2 separate regions of the Homo sapiens genome follow, and region 2 is linked to region 1. The links are contacts of gene promoters, found by promoter capture Hi-C in blood cells and fetal thymus (Javierre and others, 2016). All regions are on one chromosome and are shown on one strand. The core of a region is centred on a gene start or on the middle of the fragment in contact, and the rest is flanking DNA. Distances in the headings are between cores, read along the strand shown.

Evidence for each region. Contacts are between HindIII fragments. The CHiCAGO score rates a contact against its expected background, and 5 or more counts as called.
Region 2: a contact is called between a fragment that was not itself captured here and the fragment with the promoter of TFRC in region 1, in 2 of 17 cell types (M1 macrophages and M2 macrophages). The highest score is 6.1, in M1 macrophages.

What each region holds. Positions count from the first base shown.
Region 1 is chr3:196,080,583-196,083,848 of GRCh38, forward strand. It overlaps TFRC (transferrin receptor), which reads right to left and starts at 1,508. Exons shown (of 19, transcript NM_001128148.3): 1 at 1,461-1,508. RefSeq lists an enhancer at 1-259 and silencers at 1,141-1,440, 1,491-1,830. The HindIII fragment of the contact is 5,608 bases long and covers 323-3,266 here.
Region 2 is chr3:196,224,602-196,227,867 of GRCh38, forward strand. SLC51A (solute carrier family 51 member A) reads left to right here. Exons shown (of 9, transcript NM_152672.6): 3 at 2,364-2,518; 4 at 3,063-3,136. Among named protein-coding and RNA genes, the nearest start is that of SLC51A, 9.7 kb to the left of the region's middle. The HindIII fragment of the contact is 5,487 bases long and covers 1-3,266 here.

The sequences.
Region 1 (3,266 bases), core at 258-2,757:
GGGAATCTTGCTCCATGACATTTAAATACATTATCAGAGGCAAGTAACTGCCTCGCCTTAGGGCGGAGTTAGCCAAACTGCTGTCTATCTAACAATCTTCAACACAGGCTAGGTTTACAGCCACCATTACTTGATAAGAACATCCAAAGGAAATTGAAGGATGCTATGCTATATATAACCTTGCAAAATCGATGACAAAAATTATCTTAACTCTGAGTTTTCTTGAGAAGCATATTGTAACCCAAAATTCAGGGCCGGGGGGCGGGGGGAACCAGCAGGGTCCACAAGTACTCTAGACAGCCTAACCTTAATTTTCACAGTAAGCTTAGCATATAAGCATGGGGTAGCCAAATACAATTTCCTACTTTAATCCTCTTATCAACGGGGAAGAAAATGGAAAAAGCTGCAGAATCCAGTCCCCCGGGTAAGTGAGGTCTCTACAAGCAGTAAGCAGAGGGAAAGCGTTATCCGAAAAGAGCCGAATCAGAATGTATTTTCTTACCCACCCTCCCAACCTTAAAAGAACTGTCCAGCAGAATGTGACACAATCGGCCTCTCCGGCGCCCATCAATCCAGCACAGCCCTCTGACCACACCGCTAATCTCCAAGTATCTTTCACAAATAAGTCACTCCTATGGCTCCCGTCTTGTAGTGAGAACTGCTAGCAATATTCTTAATGTGAACACCTGCGGCGTTCAGTCGGATTCTGCCTTGAGAAAACAGAATCCACACACAAGGCGAACAGGCAGAGCATGGCAAGATCAGGTTGTACCAGAGCCGAAGGGTAAGTTTACAGAAACCCGTATCTAATTAATGCCTGTAACACGCTAGTAACCGAATCGGGGACAGCTTTGTCCCTTTCCGCAGTGAGAACGGGGCCCGCCCGGAGCCCGGGGAACCGAAGGTTTAGGAGCCCAAGGTCACCCACGAATCCCAGCCGTTCCCTGGGGCGACTTCCTGGAGCAGCCACGTGTTCCCCCGGCGCCGCACGCCGCGCAGCTGCACCTTGGCTGCGCCCGCGCTCCCGGACCCGCAGCCCGGAGCCGGCGCACTAGGGCCTGCGGCCTTCAAGGGCGAGGACCCGAAGTCCCCGGGGCTGAGAGCGACAGTGGGGGTACACCTGGTCTCGTCATTCGTCGCTCTGTGACCGAGGAGGCGGGCAAGAAGGCAGAGAGAAGGGAAGGGACGAGAGGCGAAGGGACGAGAGGCGCAGGGACGCCTCTGCGCACAGCCGCCGACCCCGTGTACCTGCAGCCGCTCGAGGCGCCGCCACAGCCCCTTCCCCACAGGCTCGCGGCCCCGCTCCATCCCGGCCGCCCCGCCTGGGGCCGCGACCGCTTTCCCGCTCCCCGTGCGGCTCCCTATGGCTGCTGGACAGCACCGGAGCGGCCGCTCCAGCCAGCCCCGCAGGATGAAGGGAGGACACGAGGGTCGGTGTAGTTCTAGAAGCCCGCACTCACACTAGCGCGTCCTCCGTCCCGAGCCGCCACCCGATATCCCGACGCTCTGAGGGGATGGCGGCCCCTAACCGGCGGTTTATAGCCTGGCCCCGCCCCCGGCCCCCAGGGGGGCTGTGCGTCACTTCCTGAGGCACGTACGCTCGCGAGGTGCTCTGACAGATCGCCCGGGGGGCGGGGATGCGCGCGCAGCGGGCGGGGCCCTATGCGGAGGGCGCTGCGGGCGAGGCGAAGGCCAAGGGAAAAGGCGCCAAGGCAGCAGGTGCCCCGAGGAGCCGCGCGATGGGCGCACTGGCCTCTGCCTCGGCGCCTTCCTCCACCCTGGTAGCCTGGCAGCCTCCGCCTGACCTTGACCAACCTCCAGTCCCTGCAGTGCTAGGTCCAATCTGTTGGCGTTGACGCTTAAATGTTGGATATTGCACTGCGGCAGTGCCTTGAAATGTACGTGCAGGATGGAATGTTAGGTAACTATTAAAGCCACTCTTGTGAAGATGTATTTTGCAGCCTCAGAAATACAAAAAGGAAAAGAAAAGCAAAATGCAAATTTTTATTCAGAATGTATACAAGCTGCACTTTAACCAAGACTAGCGGAGTGCTTTGCGTAATGTTTAATGCATGAGGGAATAAAAGGGAAAATAGAAACAAGTGACTTAATAGGGTGATAGGATTGTAGATTAACTTTCGTTTTCATTGCCATCGCTGTTATTGGATTGTGCAATGAATAACAAATAAATAAAATTCAATTCTTGTCACTGTTTAAACTCTTTCCAAACAATCACACCCTCTCCCTCCCTCTGGTCAGTAACCAGCAGGCCAGGGAGGTAGTAGCTACAATGCAAGAAAGCAACCCATACCTTAAAAAGCATTGCACATAAACTGACCTTCAGGCCCGTAGGGACACAGAACAGCCCTTTAAGAAGCAAATCCGTTTCTGGGCCTTGGGCTTTTACTCTTCCCTTTATTTCTTCTGCTCTAAGATAGAGAAAGTACTTGGGATTCTCACCGCCTTTCTCTTTACTCCCATTCTCTAAAATCTCTCTCCCCAAAGAGAAGTGTTTAAAAGTCATATGAGTTGCCAGGCGCGGTGGCTCACGCCTGCAATCCTAACACTTTGGGAGGCCGAGGTGAGCGGATCACGAGGTCTGGAGTTCGAGACCAGCCTGACCAATATGGTGAAACCCCATCTCTACTAAAAAAATTTCAAAAAAAATTAGCCAGGCATAGTGGCACGCGCCTGTAATCCCAGCTACTCAGGAGGCTGAGGCAGAAGAATCGCTTGAACCCAAGAGGCGGAGGTTGCAGTGAGCCAAGATCGCGCCATTGCACTCCAACCTGGGCGACAGAGCAAGATTCCATCTCAAAAAAAAAAAAAAGTCATATGAGCAGGAGCATTGCTGCACCTTTAATGATCTAATCAGGAAAAGGTTAAGGATGCACATCCACAGAGGGCCTACCTTAACATTCAGACACCAGGCCTGCTCCCCTGTGGTGTTCCTTCTTTATTTCTTTAATTATTAATTTTATTTATTTTTATTATTTTTACTTTTAAGACAGTGTCTTGCTCTGTCACCCTGGCTGGAGTACAGTGGCATGATCTCGGGCTCACTGCAACCTCTGCCTCCGGATTCAAGCGATTCTCCTGCCTCAGCCTCCCAAGTAGCTGGGACTACAGGTGTGTGCCACCATGCCAGGCTAATTTTTGTATTTTGAGGAGTGACGGGATTTTATCATGTTGGCCAGGCTTGTCTCGAATTCCTGACCTCAGGTGATCTGCCCACCTTGGCCTCCTAAAATGTTGGGATAACAGGC
Region 2 (3,266 bases), core at 219-2,718, 140 kb after region 1:
GGAGGTGGAGGCTGCAGTAAGCTAAGATCAGACCAGTGCACTCCAGCCTGTGCGACAAGAGTGAAACTTCGTTGAAAGAAGAGAAGGGGGCGGGGCGGGGGGGGGAGGAGATGGGAGGGGAGGAGAGGGGAGGAGAGGGGAGAGGGGAGGGAATGGGAGAGGGGAGGGGAGGGGAGGGGAGGAGAGGAGAGTTGTCTGCAAGTGGAGGAGAGAGGCCTCAGGAGAAATCAAACCTGCTGACACCTTGATCTTGAACTAGCCTCCAAAACTATGAGAAAATAAATTTAAGTTGTTTAATTTTTAAAAAAGTGACTACTCAGAAAAGATAGAAAAAAGTAAGTAGAAAAGAAGACACAAATCATCCATAGTCCCATCACCCAAACATAAGCATTGCTAACTTTTTTCAGTATTATAGGTATTTTCCTTTTTTTTTTTTTTTCACCCAGGCTGGAGTGCAGCGGTGTGATCCTGGCTCACTACAGCCTTCACCTCTCCCGGAGTAGCTGGGACCACAGGCAGGCGCCACCACACCCGGCTAATTTCTGTATTTTTAGTAGAGGTGGGGTTTCACTATGTTGGCCAGGCTGGTCTTGGACTCCTGGCCTCAAGTGATCCGCCCACCTCAGCTTCCCAAAGTGCTGGGACTACCAGTGTGAGCCACCGTGCCCAGCCGAGGGTCAGCGTATTTTTTGACAAATTCACCCATAGTCCTGGTTGGTCCTGTGGTGCCACCAGGTGCGACTGACCGAGACAAGAGCTCCAGCTCAAGTCTGTACCGTGGCCACCTTTCTCCCTGTTTTGGTTTCAGCAGTCATATTGCTCCCACTGAGCTGCCCTCATGTTCCTTAGTCACCAAAACACAGAGCAGACTAGCTAATCCCTTCCTCGTGCTCACCCCGCAAGGCAACAGGACAATGACTGGAGTGTGGCAGTTTTCTCCCTTTCTTCCTCTTATCTAGTCAGGTAGCAGGTGCAAAGGAGGGTCCAATAACTAGAAAAGACACTTAGATAAATGACCACAGGTTCACTAAGGACCTAGAACCCTTTCTTTAAAACTAACGGCTGCATTAATGAATCACGTTTGTTCGGAAACACATATTGTGACTATATTCATTTTTTTCTGTTAGCAACGGTGAGGCCAGATGAGGTCTACCAGTATTTGTCAAAGTGTCTGCTATCCTCCGACCACTATCAGGTGAGCTTGTTAAAAATGCAGATGACTGGGCCCATCTCAGATCTATGGACGCACATGTCTGAACGTAGGGCCTGGGCAGCTAGCTGCTTTTTAACAACTCCCAAAATGACTGCAATATCCACGAAAGTTTGAAAACCTTGGACTATAGTTCATGTAAGACCAAGCATGAGGCCAGCGTGCGTCAGGTGTCCTTGGGGTTTTTATTTGATCCGTTTCTCTTTTGTTGAAGTTCTCCCCTGGCCGAGTGTGGTGGCTCACGTCTGTAATCCCAGCACTTTGGGAGACCAGGGTGGAAGGACTGCTTAAGCCTAGGAGTTTGAGACCAGTCTGGGCAACGTAGTGAGACCCCGTCTCTACAGAAAATGTTAAAAATTAGCCGGCCGTGGTGGGGGTGCACACCTGTAGTCCCAGGCTACTTGGGAGGCTGAGGTTGGAGGATGGTTTGAACCCGGAAGGTCAAGGTTGCAGTGAGCCATGATCACACCACTGCCCTCCAGCCTGGGCGACAGAGTGAGAACCTGTCCTCCTCCCCACAAAAAAGTTCTCTGCTAATGTCCTGGTTTCACCATATAATTTTGGTGAAATCAACTTAAACAGATCCAGAATGTCCCATAAATTATATTCGGCTTCAATTATGTTAATTGATCTACATTCGCTAGTGCAGCACCTGGCACTGGAGATAGAAAAGTGAAGTGGGGTTGGGCACGGGGGCTGAGGCCTATAATCCCAGCACTTTGCAGGGCCAAGGCGAGTGGATCACTTGAGGTGAGGAGTTCGAGACCATCCTGGCCAACATGGAGAAAACTATCTCTACTAAAAATATAAAAATTAGCCGGGCATAGTGGTGGGTGTCTGTAATCCCAGCTACTTGGGAGGCTGAGGCAGGAGAATCACTTAAACCCAGGAGATGGAGGTTGCAGTGACCCAAGTTCACACCACTGCACTCCAGCCTGGGCAACAGAGTGAGGCTCCGTCTTAAAAAAAAAAAAAAAAGAAAAAGAAAAAAAAAAGACTATTTCTTAGGTTGAATACTCTAGGTCTAAAAAATCCTCATTCCTGTGCACGGGTGGGAGCCTAGATCCAGTAAGGCAATTTCGATCCGAGGAACAAGCCCAGGCCTTCTCCCGCTCAGTCCCGGTCGTCAGCTCTCTGCCTTCTCCTCCTCTAGCCCTGGGCCCTGTGGAACTTGCCCTCACTAGCATCCTGACCTTGCTGGCGCTGGGCTCCATTGCCATCTTCCTGGAGGATGCCGTCTACCTGTACAAGAACACCCTTTGCCCCATCAAGAGGCGGACTCTGCTCTGGAAGAGCTCGGCACCCACGGTGAGGCCCCCGGGGCTGCCCTGTGGGGGGAACTGAAAAGAAGGCAGAGACCAAGGTGAGAATTCCTCTAAACTCAGCACGTCACTTCGGCAAAGAGTGTCCTGCCACGACCCGCGGAGGGCCGAGGTTTGCAGGCCGACCTCCCCTTGCAGTTAGGATCCTCTGCTTGGAAGGCTGTGCAGTGTTTGCATTCTAAGGGCTGCGGAGACAGCTGGAGATCTGCTCAGCCCACCAGCCGCCTCATCCTTGCTCCCCGCTACAGTGTTGCCACTTGAAGAGCTTCCTTCAGTGGTTCCTCAGAGTGTGGGGGAAAGTCTCATTCCACAGGGTCACACTCAGCTCCACCCTTACGCTGAGGCTTTTGAAACACCCTCCCACAGGTCCTTGGTTTGCTTGACTTAATTAGTGCTTTTTCCAGCTGGCAACGTTTAAGGAACGCTGCCTCGAATGTGTAGGTTTTGCCTCCTGTGTCCTTGCCGCAAAAGGCTTCCGGAGCCTCAGGGTCTCCCTCCCGCCCTCACCTGCTCCTGCCCCTTCTGAGCAGGTGGTGTCTGTGCTGTGCTGCTTTGGTCTCTGGATCCCTCGTTCCCTGGTGCTGGTGGAAATGACCATCACCTCGTGAGTGCCCTGCCTCGCCCCACCTCCAAGGGCCCCTCTGCTCCCGCTCACCAGGACTCGAGTCCGTGTCCTTGATCCCAGCTGACCATGTATCTGGCCCTTCCCAGCTTGTGCTAGTTCCGGGCTCTTG